Regions from separate parts of the Homo sapiens genome. Here region 2 is linked to region 1. Evidence: promoter capture Hi-C in human tissues and cell types (Jung and others, 2019). All regions are on one chromosome and are shown on one strand. The core of a region is centred on a gene start or on the middle of the fragment in contact, and the rest is flanking DNA. Distances in the headings are between cores, read along the strand shown. Region 1 holds the start of GAB1 (GRB2 associated binding protein 1). Region 2 overlaps ANAPC10 (anaphase promoting complex subunit 10).

The links. Contacts are between HindIII fragments. The study calls those that stand out against the background at their distance.
Region 2: a contact is called between a fragment that was not itself captured here and the fragment with the promoter of GAB1 in region 1, in 1 of the 25 tissues and cell types used here (hippocampus).

What each region holds. Positions count from the first base shown.
Region 1 is chr4:143,333,624-143,339,833 of GRCh38, forward strand. GAB1 (GRB2 associated binding protein 1) reads left to right here and starts at 3,253. Exons shown (of 10, transcript NM_002039.4): 1 at 3,253-3,637. The coding sequence starts at 3,566. It also overlaps the pseudogene LOC124900789. RefSeq lists enhancers at 2,060-2,269, 3,179-3,992 and silencers at 2,462-2,629, 2,570-2,869, 2,970-3,029, 3,100-3,149. The HindIII fragment of the contact is 14,684 bases long and covers 1-6,210 here.
Region 2 is chr4:145,086,635-145,092,978 of GRCh38, forward strand. All of the region lies in intron 2 of ANAPC10 (anaphase promoting complex subunit 10), which reads right to left. Among named protein-coding and RNA genes, the nearest start is that of ANAPC10, 8.4 kb to the right of the region's middle. The HindIII fragment of the contact is 6,056 bases long and covers 400-6,344 here.

The DNA of each region.
Region 1 (6,210 bases), core at 2,003-4,502:
CAGGCTGGAGTGCAGTGGCCCTATGTCAGCTCTCTGAAACCTCCCTGTCCCGGGTCCAAGTGATTCTTGTGCCTCAGCCTCCTGAGTAGCTGGGACTACAGGCACGCGCCACCACACCCAGCTAATTTTTGTGTTTTTAGAAGAGACTGGGTTTTCACCACGTTGGCCAGGATGGTCGCGACCTCCTGGCCTCAGGTGACCTGCTCATCTAGACCTCCCAAAGTGCTGGGATTACAAGTGCAAGCCATCACGCCCAACCAACACTACCATTTTCCTTTTTATTTATTTATTTATTTTTCAGAGACAGTCTCGCTCTGTCTCCCAAGTTGAAGTGCAGTGGCACGATCTCGGCTCACTGCAACCTCCACCTCCTGGGTTCAAGCGATTCTCCTGCCTCAGCCTCCCGAGTAGCTGGGACTACAGGCGCGTGCCACCACACCCGGCTAATTTTTGTGTTTTTAGTAGAGACTGGGTTTCACCACGTTGGCCAGGGTGGTCTCAAACTCCTGGCCTCAAGTGACCTGCTCACCTAGACCTCCCACAGTGCTGGGAATACAAGCGCGAGCCATCGCGCCCGACTAACCGACCAACACTACCATTTCTTTTCTTTTCTTTTCTTTTCTTTTCTTTTCTTTTCTTTTCTTTTCTTTTTTTTTTTTTAGAGACACAATCTCGCTTTGTCGCCCAAGCTGAAGTGCAGTAGCGCGATCTCGGCTCGCTGCAACCTCCGCCTCCCGGGTCAAGCGATTCTCCTGCCTCAGCCTCCCGAGTAGCTGGGACTACAGGCGCACGCCGCCACGGCTAATTTTTTGTATTTTAGTAGAGACGGGTTTTCACTGAGTTGCCCAGTCTGGTCTCAAACTCCTGAGCTCAGGCAATCCACCCACCTAGGCCTCCCAAAGTGCTAGGATTACAGGCGTGAGCCACCGCACCTGGCCAACACTACCATTTCTATTTCTCATTAAACTTCTGCAAAATCGGTGTTGCAATTCCCATTTCACATATCGGGAAACTGAGACTCAGAGACATTGTGTAATTTACCCAAGGTCACGACTACTCAGTTGATGACCTGAAAAGTGCATCCAGATCTGCAAGAAGTTCCGCCCTTGTGATACTGTTAAGTGCCTGCCAAAAGATGACGGTCTCTAAACCCCAGTGGGAACCAGGCTTTTTCAGATTTTTCTTTTTTGAGACTGAGTCTCAATCTGTAGTTTTGTTGACTCTTTATTTGCTTACTACCCTATGCCACTACCTCCATATATGCAGGGATCTTTGTCTTGTCACCACTCCAGCACCTAATTTCTTATTACAATCATCTAACATTTTCAAACTCAGAGGAGCTTCAGAATATGAATGTTGTGTTAATAAGAAAATGACTGAAGTTATGTCTTTCCAGAAATGCTCATTTATGTCGTCATATTTTTAGCACTTTTATCTGATTATATTATCTGCTGAAATTGGCTTTGGGGCTTTTTCACAAATAAATTGGAGAAGATGTTTATTACAGAATCATGTTAAACTCAGGACCAGTATAATAATTGTGAAACACACAAGGAAGTAGGCAAATAGAACTAGGGTACCCAGTAAATTTCCTTCCTTCCTTCTTTCTCTCTCTCTCTCTTTTTTTTTTTTTTTTTTTTTGACGGAGTTTTGCTCTTGTTGCCCAGGCTGGAGCGCAGTGTCGCGATCTCGGCTCACCGCAATCTCCGCCTCCCGGGTTCAAGCTATTTTCCTGTCTCAGCCTCCCGAGTAGCTGGGATTATAGGCGCGCGCCACTACGCCCGGCTAATTTTTGTATTTTTAGTAGAGATTGGGTTTCTCCATGTTGGTCAGGCTGGTCTTGAACTCCCGACCTCAGTTGATCCGCCCGCCTCGGCCTCCCAAAGTGCTGGGATTACAGGCGTGAGCCACCGCGCCCGGCCAAGTGTCCCTCTTCTAGTCCAGCATCCGAACAGTAGATTTCAAACAAATACAAAGTTAAGTGGAATAGGCAACAAATGGAAGGGGTGTGAGACTTCAAAATGTCTCAGAGATAGGACCCAACCAAATCCTTGGCCTCGCCAAGCGCCCCCATCACTCTGGCAGAACAGCTCCAGAGACCAGCCCTGGCCAGCCCTGGGTCCCCATCTGTCCTCCCCTCCAAGCTGGTAGCTCCCGCGCCCTCTTGGTCTGTCCTTTAATCTCGCGCGGCGGGGACCGGCAGGATGGTGGTCTCCCCGCGGTTTTGCCTTTCAGGCTCTCAAGTAAAGAAAACCCTCGAAACTCCTGATCTCGAGCACAGCACAAGCTCCGAGCTGGCACCGGGCTGAGTCAAGATGGCAAGCCCCGGACTGAACATTCGAATGTCCCTCAGTCTTCCCCGCGCCCAAGCCCCGGTGCCTCTGCCCTAGCCGAGGCCTCTGCGGTCTTCCCGGGCGAGGAGCCGATTGGGGGCCGCCGGACGGCGGAGGACCCTGCTCCTGCTTCCCGAACTACAGATCCCAGGGTGCCTCTCGGACTCGCGCTCCCTCCCTCCCTTGCTCCCTCCCTTCGTCCGTCTCCTCCCCCGGCCCTTGTTGTTTTGGCTGGAAGCACTCCGGCGGAGTTTCAGAGAAAGTCTGGGCAGAAACCGGAGCCGGGCCTGAACGTGGGAAGGGGAGGAGGAGAGGGAGGAAGAAGGAGCCCGGCGGCCGGGAGAGGGAGGGAGGGATCGGGATCTGGGGCCGAGCCGCTCAGGACCTGCCGCGAGCCCCGGGGTGGGGGAGGCGGCGGGGGAGGAGCGCGAGGGGACGGGACAGCGGGATCCCTCCCAGGAGCCAAGCCGCCAAGCGCCTCGTTCCTCTGCTGCTCCCCGCCCTCTTCGGCGGCCGCGAGAGCGGACCCACCCTCCGGCTTGACCTGCGACCTCCCTGCGCCCGCCGCTCAGAAACGCCCCGCGCTTCGCTGCCAACCCTGCGGCTCCCTCTGTGACCCGGGACCAGCCCCGCGCCCGCTGCCCGTAGGCGGCTCGCGGCTTCCCCTTTCCTCGGCGTTCACCGAGCGCCGCGAAGTGACCCACCCTCCCCCGAGGAGAGGGAAGGAGGATCGCTCCGGGCGCATCGAAACCGAGGGCGGGTGGGCGGGCGAGCGGGCACCGCGCGGGGCATTGTGTGTGTGTGTGTGTGTGTGTGTGTGTGTGAGCAGCGCTGTGTCTGTTTCGGAAAGCGCTCTGGGGAGGTCTTGTCCCTAGGGGGCGGAGCGCAAAGGACAGAAGCTCCGGCACCGAGTCGGGGCAGAGTCCCGCTGAGTCCGAGCGCTGCTGAGGCAGCTGGCGAGACGGCACGTCTGGAGGCGAGGCGGGCGCACTGAAAGGAGGCCGGCGCGCCCGCGGCCCCGGCTCGCGTTCTGTTCAGGTTCGTGGGCCTGCAGAGGAGAGACTCGAACTCGTGGAACCCGCGCACCGTGGAGTCTGTCCGCCCAGTCCGTCCGGGGTGCGCGACCAGGAGAGCTAGGTTCTCGCCACTGCGCGCTCGGCAGGCGTCGGCTGTGTCGGGAGCGCGCCCGCCGCCCCTCAGCTGCCCGGCCCGGAGCCCGAGACGCGCGCACCATGAGCGGTGGTGAAGTGGTCTGCTCCGGATGGCTCCGCAAGTCCCCCCCGGAGAAAAAGTTGAAGCGTTATGTAAGTAGAGCTGCGGGCACCACTCCGCGGGCCTCGGCGTCCACACCCCTCCCCAGTCGGCTCGCCGGCGGCTGCAGCTGGCCGCGCGCGGGGCTGGTTCTTAAACGAATGCCGGTCTCTTTCCCCTTGGCCCCTACCCCTGGCGGGCTCGGGACAGGGTGCCTTGCACTCCCTCACGCCCAGGCATCCACTTGGCCGGACAACTTTCTTCCTCCAGGTTCCAGACAGCCTGCTTTGCGGGCCTGTTCGCCCCATAAAAGGACCTAGACGTCCAGCTAAACTCCTGCTGCATGCTTTTTTTCTTCCTTAGGAAGGATGGGGTGCGATGGAGAGAGGAGCCTTCTTCCTGCTTTATTCCTGCATCTGATTATTGGGCTGATGTGTGCTAAAGCTCCCGCACCGGGAAAACTGCCGAGGTTTTAGGGCTCACTAGCCCTTTCTTTGGTGGGCGCTCCCTCTCCTCCGCCCCTCGAGATGGGTTGCGGGAAGCGGGCTGTGGAGCTGAGGAGTTGGTAGTAGAGACAAGCATATCGAACGCGCGCAAAAGGGAAAGAAAGAAAAGTTATTACGCGCCCTGCCGTTTGCTTAGCAGGGTTCACATTTTCGCGGTTTTGAATTGAGGGACTTTGGAGTTTGGCCCGGGAGCCTTGGCGGTTTGCTGCGAGAGGAGGGCGCTGGGGGGGAGCCTAGTGGCTGGTGTTTGGGCGCCTTGGATGTGCTGTCAAACTCGGCAGGAGGGGACAGCTGAAGCCAGAAGGGATTTCAGTTGCGGTCCTTTCCCAGGGAACCAGAGTGGCTTTAATGGTGTTTGTGTAATTGATACAAGATGCTATGTGTTAAACCGTTTTAGCTGTTAGGAAAAATATTCCTTGAAAGTATCAACCTTGCTTTAGTGGAAACCTGTGTCCTCTTCAGAGGTCTGGGATCTTATTCTTCCTCCCCATTGGTTGTTTTGTTGCTGCTCCCTTGCAAAGGAAAGAAATGACACTTTTGTGCTGACATCTGGATCAAATATTTTTCTAGTAAAATGTGTTTGCAAAAGCAAAATTTATGCCCCCTTAAATATAATATAAATTTAATGCCTGTACGAAGGGAACCCGTTTGTCGTTGAGGAATATCTACACCCAGTATTAGAGCTCAGGTTAATCCTGTTAGTCACTGTTTGCTTGTATAGAACAGAGTGAAGTACACAGAGTGAAGTATTTAACTTCACTGACAACTCACCAGTGAATTTCTGATTTACTTTCTGCCAGAATTTATTATAGACAAGTAATTTTATTGAAAGACTCGATGCCACAAATCATAAGAAAGCTCTCCAGAGATGTGTAATGCCTCCAAATCCTGTCCATCTATCAGTTTTCCTGAATATCCTAGTAAAAATGCTAACTTTATTCCAAAAATATGAACGAGGCAGTGTTTTTTTTTCCAGCTGTTCTAAAGAGAAAGGTAGGGGTGTGTGTGTGTGTGTGTATGTGACAGAGAAGGAAGGGAGAAAGGGGTAGGGAGATAAATATATTTGTTTTGAGAAGGCCCAATTTAGGAAAAACAGATTCTTGGAGGAATTAAAGAATAACATATTTGCTGAACGTGAAAGTGATAATATAGGTTTAATTCATTCTTTCACATGGTTAGTTCATGGCTCACTCAAAAGACGCCAGGCACTGTATTAGACACCAACCATAAGGTCACAAAATACAGTAGGAAAAAGGAAAAAAGCCCTGCCTCTTGGGCTTAGAATTCAATTGAACTATTAACCAGGAAAGAAATCAGCCAAAAAGATTATGTCTTAACAAGAAAAACAAAAAGGAAAGTATAATTTGATCATTACAACTGTTTTCTGAGGTAGGTGTCATCTCTATTTTACAGAAAACAGTCCTGCATTTGAACCCAGATCTGCCTGATTGATTGGACTGTAAAAGGTTAACGACTCTCACCTAGTTCATTTCAAATGTGGAGCTTAGACTAGGTTATCTCTAAAGGTCCTTCAGGCTCACACCTGTAATCCCAGCACTTTGGGAGGCCGAGGCCAGTGGATCACCTGAGGTCAGGAGACCAGCCTGGCCAACATGGCGAAACTCTGTCTCTACTAAAAATACAAAAAATAGCCGGGCGTGGTGGTGTACGCCTGTAATCCCAGCTGCTGGGGAGGCTGAGGCAGGAGAAATGCTTGAACCTGGGAGGTGGAGGTTGCAGTGAGCAGAGTTTGTGCCATTGCACTGCAGCCTGGATGACAGGGTGAGACTCCGTCTCAAAAATAGCAACAACAAAATAAAGGTCCTTTCAGATTATAACTTTTCCTGACTCTGAATATTAGTTGAGAATACAAGAATGAGGTGGACTATGGATCAGGTGCACAGTGCTAAAGAAATGTAAGACCTAGTCTTTGCCTTTAAGTAGCTCTTTGAGTCTTTGGGACCACGAGACAAGTATATGTGAAAAAGCCAACAGTGCAAAGTGGTATATGACTGTGTGTCTAAGTTGAGTGGTATGGGTATTTTTTGGCTGTTCTGAGGAACAAGTTCAATGTAGACTGAAACTATGGGAACATTTGAGAGAGACAGTGGGCTGCCTAC
Region 2 (6,344 bases), core at 2,178-4,677, 1.8 Mb after region 1:
GTACTGATATTTTGGACTGAATAATTCTTTGTTCAGTACAGGGGATGTCCAGTGCATTGAAAGGTATTTAGCTGTATCCCTGGGCTCTACCCACTAGATGCCAATAGAAACACTCCCCCAACTCCCCAACTCCCCCCACCCTCATGTCCCCAGTAATCACAACAATCAAAAATATCTCCAGACTTTGTACCCTGGAGGGTAAAAGCATCCCCTGGTGAGAGCAACTGCCCTAAAGAAAAGAAAATCAGTATTCATCTATGGTTATTGTTATTGTTTGGTAAATATTCATGCTTCTCTCCCCACTCTCCATGGGAGGGATACGATTCTGCACTCCAGTCAATAACGGGGCTAAATCATGACTTACTTCAGTCAATACACTGTGACACAAGCAGAGGCGGTAAATGTGCTTGCAAAGTCTGGCTTGGTCTTCTGAATGCTCTGCACTCCACTAAGAGAATATGCCTGGACAAATGGAGCAGACTTGAACCTGACTCACAGCCTAAAGCCGAGCCATCACCAAAGCACAAAGTAAATTTGGCTGATCATGCCACTGAGAGACTAGGGTTGTTCGTTAAGCAGCATTAGTGGAGCAAGAGCACTAACACAACACCACTAGAGACATATTTGAGCAGCCCAGCTTAGACTGCCTTTATGAATAAAACAGTCATTTTCCTTTCAAGCATATCTATTAACACAACTACTTTCACATTTGCTAAGGGGCTGTTTTTTTCTTTTTTTTTGAGACAGGGTCTCATTCTGTTGCCCTGGCTGGAGTACAGTGGTACGATCACAGCTCACTGCAGCCTCAACCTCCTTAGGCTCTGCTAGGGGGCTATTTTAACTGAGGCAAATGTCTTAACTATGAAGACCTAAAGATAGATACAAATGGTCTCTGTAGAGAAGTTCATCCATATCATGCACTAGACCTACACTGTGGCTATATACATTTAAACGAAGTAAAATTAAAAATTTAGTTCCTCAGTAACAGTAGTAACATTTCAAATGTTCAATAGTTTCATGTAGCTAGTAGTTACCTCACTGCATGGTGCACTAAGTTCTAATGGACAGCACTGATAGATTTAAGCAAATAGATTATAATATGAAGTATTAGTACAACAATAAAGAGATGAGGCCAGGCGCAATGACTCATGCCTATAATCCCAGCATTTTGGGAGGCTGAGGTGGGCGGATCACTTGAGGTCAAGAGTTTGAGATCAGCCTGGCCAACATGGTGAAACCCTGTCTAAACTAAAAATAAAAAAAATTAGCTGAGTGTGGTGGTGCGCACCTATAATCTTAGCTACCTGGGAGGCTAAGGCAGGAGAATCACTTGAACCCGGGAGGTGGAGGTTGCAGTGAGCTGAGATCGCACCACTGCACTCCAGCTTGGGCAACAGAGCGAGACTCCACCTCAAAGAATAAAAATAAAAGAGAAATGAAGAATTAACTAACTTCCTGAAACACTTGTTTCCTCTTGACTTCTATCCATGATTTCTCACTCTCTTGGTTTTCCTCCTAGTTCACTAGCCACTTCTTAGTATCCTTTGTTGACACCTCTTCCACTATTCTGCCAGATCTCTTCATCTTCAAGTGTCCCAAAGCTTTATTCTTTTCTCTAAATTCTCTCCCTAGATGAGTTAGTCCAGTTCCCTTAGAATATCATTGGCACACTGATGACCTTCAAATTTGTATCTCCAACCCAGAACTTCAAGCAGAGCTCCCAGCCTCTACAGTCAATTGCTTACTAAACATTTCAACTAGAAAAATAGGCATTGCAAAATTAACATATATAAATTAAATTATTTATTTTTTGACCCAAAATCTATTTACTCCCTCCACTCCCTCCTTCTTTCTCAACTCAGGAAACAGTATGAGTTGTTCTGCCAGAAAGGTCACTCTGAAGGTTTCCTCCTGTGAATCGTAATTATTCCACCTCTAAAAATATATCCCAAAGCCATCATTCCTTTCCATATCAACAGTTCTTAATCCTAGTCCAAATCAACATCATCTCTAACATAAATTACTATAACATCATTTCCTCCATTGGTGTTCACCATTATGCCACTATCAACCATTATCCACAGTGGACACAGTCATCTTTTAAAAATTCTGTATCAGATCATCTTCCTCTCCTGCTTAACACCTCCAGTGGTTTCCCTTTGTACTTAAAATCAATACTCTTTTTCAGGGCCTACAAGAGTTCATATAATCTGTCCCACCATGTCTAATTACATTTCCAATCCACTCTACCATTTCTCCTCCTTACTCACTGCTCTCCAGCCCCTATAGCCTTCTTTCTGAACCTCTAAAATGCCAAATCAACTAACTTAGAGCCTTTGAACTAACTTCCTGGTGTCAAGAAAGTTCTTCTCTGAAATCTTTGCACAATGAATTCTTCTTAACATTCATGTCTCTGTGCAAATTTCACTTATAAAAGAGGCCTTCCATAATCCCACAAACTAATGTAGCCTCCCACTTAAAGTTACTTTCTATTATATTGCTGTCTTATTTTCTGCAAAGCAAATATCACTATTCAACTCAGAAATCCTTTAACTCAAAGGCCATAATTGTCAGTTATAGCATGAACTTCAATAAAAATTTAGTGATTTTTATTTTAAGAAAAACAGAATTTACAACATCCCATTAACCTTCTAAGAATTAACTCAATGTCTTCAAAAAAAAACAGGGAACAAATAGCATATAAGCCCTGTAAGATGTTCACAAAATACAGCCATACTGAATCCCTTCTTTGTATCAAATATAGAGTTAAGCACAGCAGATGTACTTATTTTTCCCCTAAATTTGTTTTTCAACATTGGATTAATTTGGTGCTTATGAAATGATTAAATTATTTTAAAAGACCCTATTATACGGTAGCAGTCATAACACAAATTTGTTCTTTTGTTTTTCCAGTCTCTTAGGTAGAGACTAACAATTGTGCTGAATTGTAAGATTGTTTTGTGGTGTGTGTTCAACTAAGCTGAATCTACTAAACACATTCCAACTTTAATCTGAATGAAATATTGAACCATTATTTCAAAGATACAAAAAGATTTTTGCAAAGCCATGTGCCACCTACCATCCTGTAGCAGGCAAGTAAATCTGTATCTCCCAAAGACTGACATTAACATTTTGAAAATTTCTTAAAATTCTCCTTTATATCACTTCCTATCTGATTTATCGCGTCTCCTGATTTCCTTTTTATTTCTAATCTTGCCTCACTTCAATCCATCCTCCACACTTCTCAAATATGAACAAACACTGATTGTTTTACTCTGTTACTTACCTTTTCAACTGCTCATATTATCTATACAGTAAAGTATGAATTGTTTAATAAAGTCTTCTATAATCAGGCTTCTACCTAACTATACAGCTTCACATACGCCATTTCCCTATTTCTAGTCTCATTTACTACATGAAATTAATTGACTAAGCCATGTTTTGTTTAAGTTGTATACCTCTGCACATATTATCATTTCTTGGCATCCAACGAGGATTGGTACCAGGACCTCTGTGGTTAACGAAATCCACTGATGCACAAGTCCCTTATTTAAAATGGCTCCTCTTGTATACTTCAAATCATCTCTAGATTACTTATAATACCTAATATAATGTAAATATGTAAAAAGTTGTACAGTGTTGTTTTTCTATTTGTGTTATTTTTGTTGTTGTATTGTTATTTTTTGTGGGTTTTTTCCAACTATTTTCAACCCTCAGTTAGTTGAATCCATGAAATTAGAACCTACAGATATGGAAGGCTAACTGTCCCATTTCCCTTGCTTTTATGTCCTTAGTGAAATCTTATTCTTGCTTCATCATACAGAATAAGCATCATCTCCATGAAGACTTCCATGATCGTTTCAAGCAAAGTAAATCACTTTCTTCTTTGGGCTAGTTCTACACTGAGCCCATATTTAGTGGAAAGCACTATTGTGTAATGGAGTCTGTCTTGAATTCCAGAATTTCCTGCTTATCATGTGATCTTTGTCAAATTACTTAATCTTTCTGTACTAGTTTCCTCATTTGGAAAATGGTAAAAGAAATAGTACAACTTCATATATAACTTTTGAAAACCTTACTGAGATAACTGGTTATTTTATGCATGTAAAGTTCTTAGAACAGCATCTATCACTTAGTAAGCACTAAATAAAAGTTATTAATTATTACATTATGTAGTAATAGTTTAAAGCTATACTTCCTCCACTAAATTGTGAAGTCCTTGACAGTAAAGATTGTGTCTTTTTTGTCTTTCAATCTCTAACAAGTTTGAGTTACAAATCTCAGCAACTATCTGCTGACTTAAACTGAAAAATATCTGACCCTAGAGAAGCAAAGATCGAGCAATCACTTTCTCATGCAGTTTCCTGTTTATAAAGAGTAGTCATTCTTAATATGTAAAATGCTAATCATATAATGATATTTCACTGATAGACTCAAAGCTCAAAATCACATGAAGTAAGACATATGACATTGCACTACTGAACTTCATGAATTTCATACTCAACACATTTTTAAGTGATCCTGCCACTCCTCTAGTAGCAGTAACTATTGATCTCTTCTGCACCTCCAAGATGTCAGAGCAGTGGGGCATTTTCAGGAAACTGGTGACATGTGTTGCTCTCTTCAAACCAGTGACTGGTGCAATATTGTGATAGTAATGAGGTACGATTCAGTGCTAGTTTACCAAGGAAGGTAAACTTTACCAAAGGAGTTCAACTAGCACTGATTTGTATCTCATTACTGACACAATATGGCACCAGTCTAGTCATACTAATAGATCAAACAGTGAAAGATGTTCAATTTAATCATATTTACAGGAATATTTGATACAATAATGGATATTAAGGAATTCCAAAGAACCCAAAAGAAAGCTGAAAAAGCTTTTAAAAAACGGGGGGAGGGGGAAATCACCGCTACAGTATTCCATAGTGTATATGTACATTTTCTTTATTCAATCTATCACTGATGGGCGTTTGGGTTGATTCCACATCTTTGCTATTATGAATAGTGCTGCAATGAACATACATGTGCATGTATCTTTGTAAAATAATAATTTATATTCTTTTGGGTATATACCCAGTGATGGGATTGCTGAGTCAAATGGTATTTCTGGTTCTACATCTTTGAGGACTCGCCACACTGTCTTCCACAATGGTTGAACTAATTTACATTTCCACCAACACTGTAAACACGTGGAGTACTATCCAGCCATAAAAAGGAATGAGATAATGTCCTTTGCAGGGACTTGGACAAAAGACCACAAAAGACCAGCCACAGATACAAGGCTATCTTGAATAGGAGGGGCCAAAATGCTGAGGCCAGGCACATGCAGCCTACCTAAGACTGCTGCTGCACTAGGAAAACAGAGAACTACCCTGCCTCTCCCTTTCAGGAGCTGGAAGCCATCATCCTCAGCAAACTAACACAGGAACAGAAAACCAAACACCACATGTTCTCGCTTATAAATAGGAGCTAAACAATGACAACAAATGGACACAGGGAGGGGAACATCACACACTAGGGCCTGTCAGGATGGGGTAGGGGGAGGGAGAGCATTAGGAAAAATAGCTAATGCATGCTGGGCTTAATACTTATGTGATAAGTTGATAGGTGCAGCAAATCACCATGGGACACATTTACCTATGTCACAAACCTGCACATCCTACACATGTACCCCAGAACTTAAACTTAAAATTTAAATTAAAAAAAATCACCTCCATCCAAACAACAGAAAAAGCTGGATAAACTACAAACTCCTACCAGACAGCCTGAAATCCAGGAATGGGGCAGCCCCCATTCCCAGGAGAAAAAAAGATTACAGATTGTCCCAACTGTAGTAGAGCATAGGAGGAAGGAACAAGACCAAATAAATACATAAGAAGAAACCAAGTATAACTTTAATAATTTGACAAAGACCAAATGCAGGCTAGCATAATAGTACAGCAACACTGAGAGCCCAAAACACAAGGTGAATTCACACTGACTCTCAGACTCTTTTGCAAGGGCCCTCACTTTACACATAAAGACTGGGAGAGGGGAAGAGACTAAACAGCCTAAGTCAGTGCTACAGATACAGAGGAGGGGACTGACCACCAGTGAAGGAAAGCAAAACGTTCTACCCTCCTTCCAAACCCTTCTCTCCCATAGAGGAAAGGACTTAAGCTACTGTAGGAGGAGAATCAACCCTGTTGACCCCAGGACACAAATACAATCCATCCTTGCTGAAAGATGAGTAAAAGAAAAAACTCTCTATACCTGAGAGAGGGGCAAACAACAGTCCTTTCTCAGAGTGAGGCAGAAAACTCTTTACCACAAAAGACCAGCCACAGATACAAGGCTGTCAT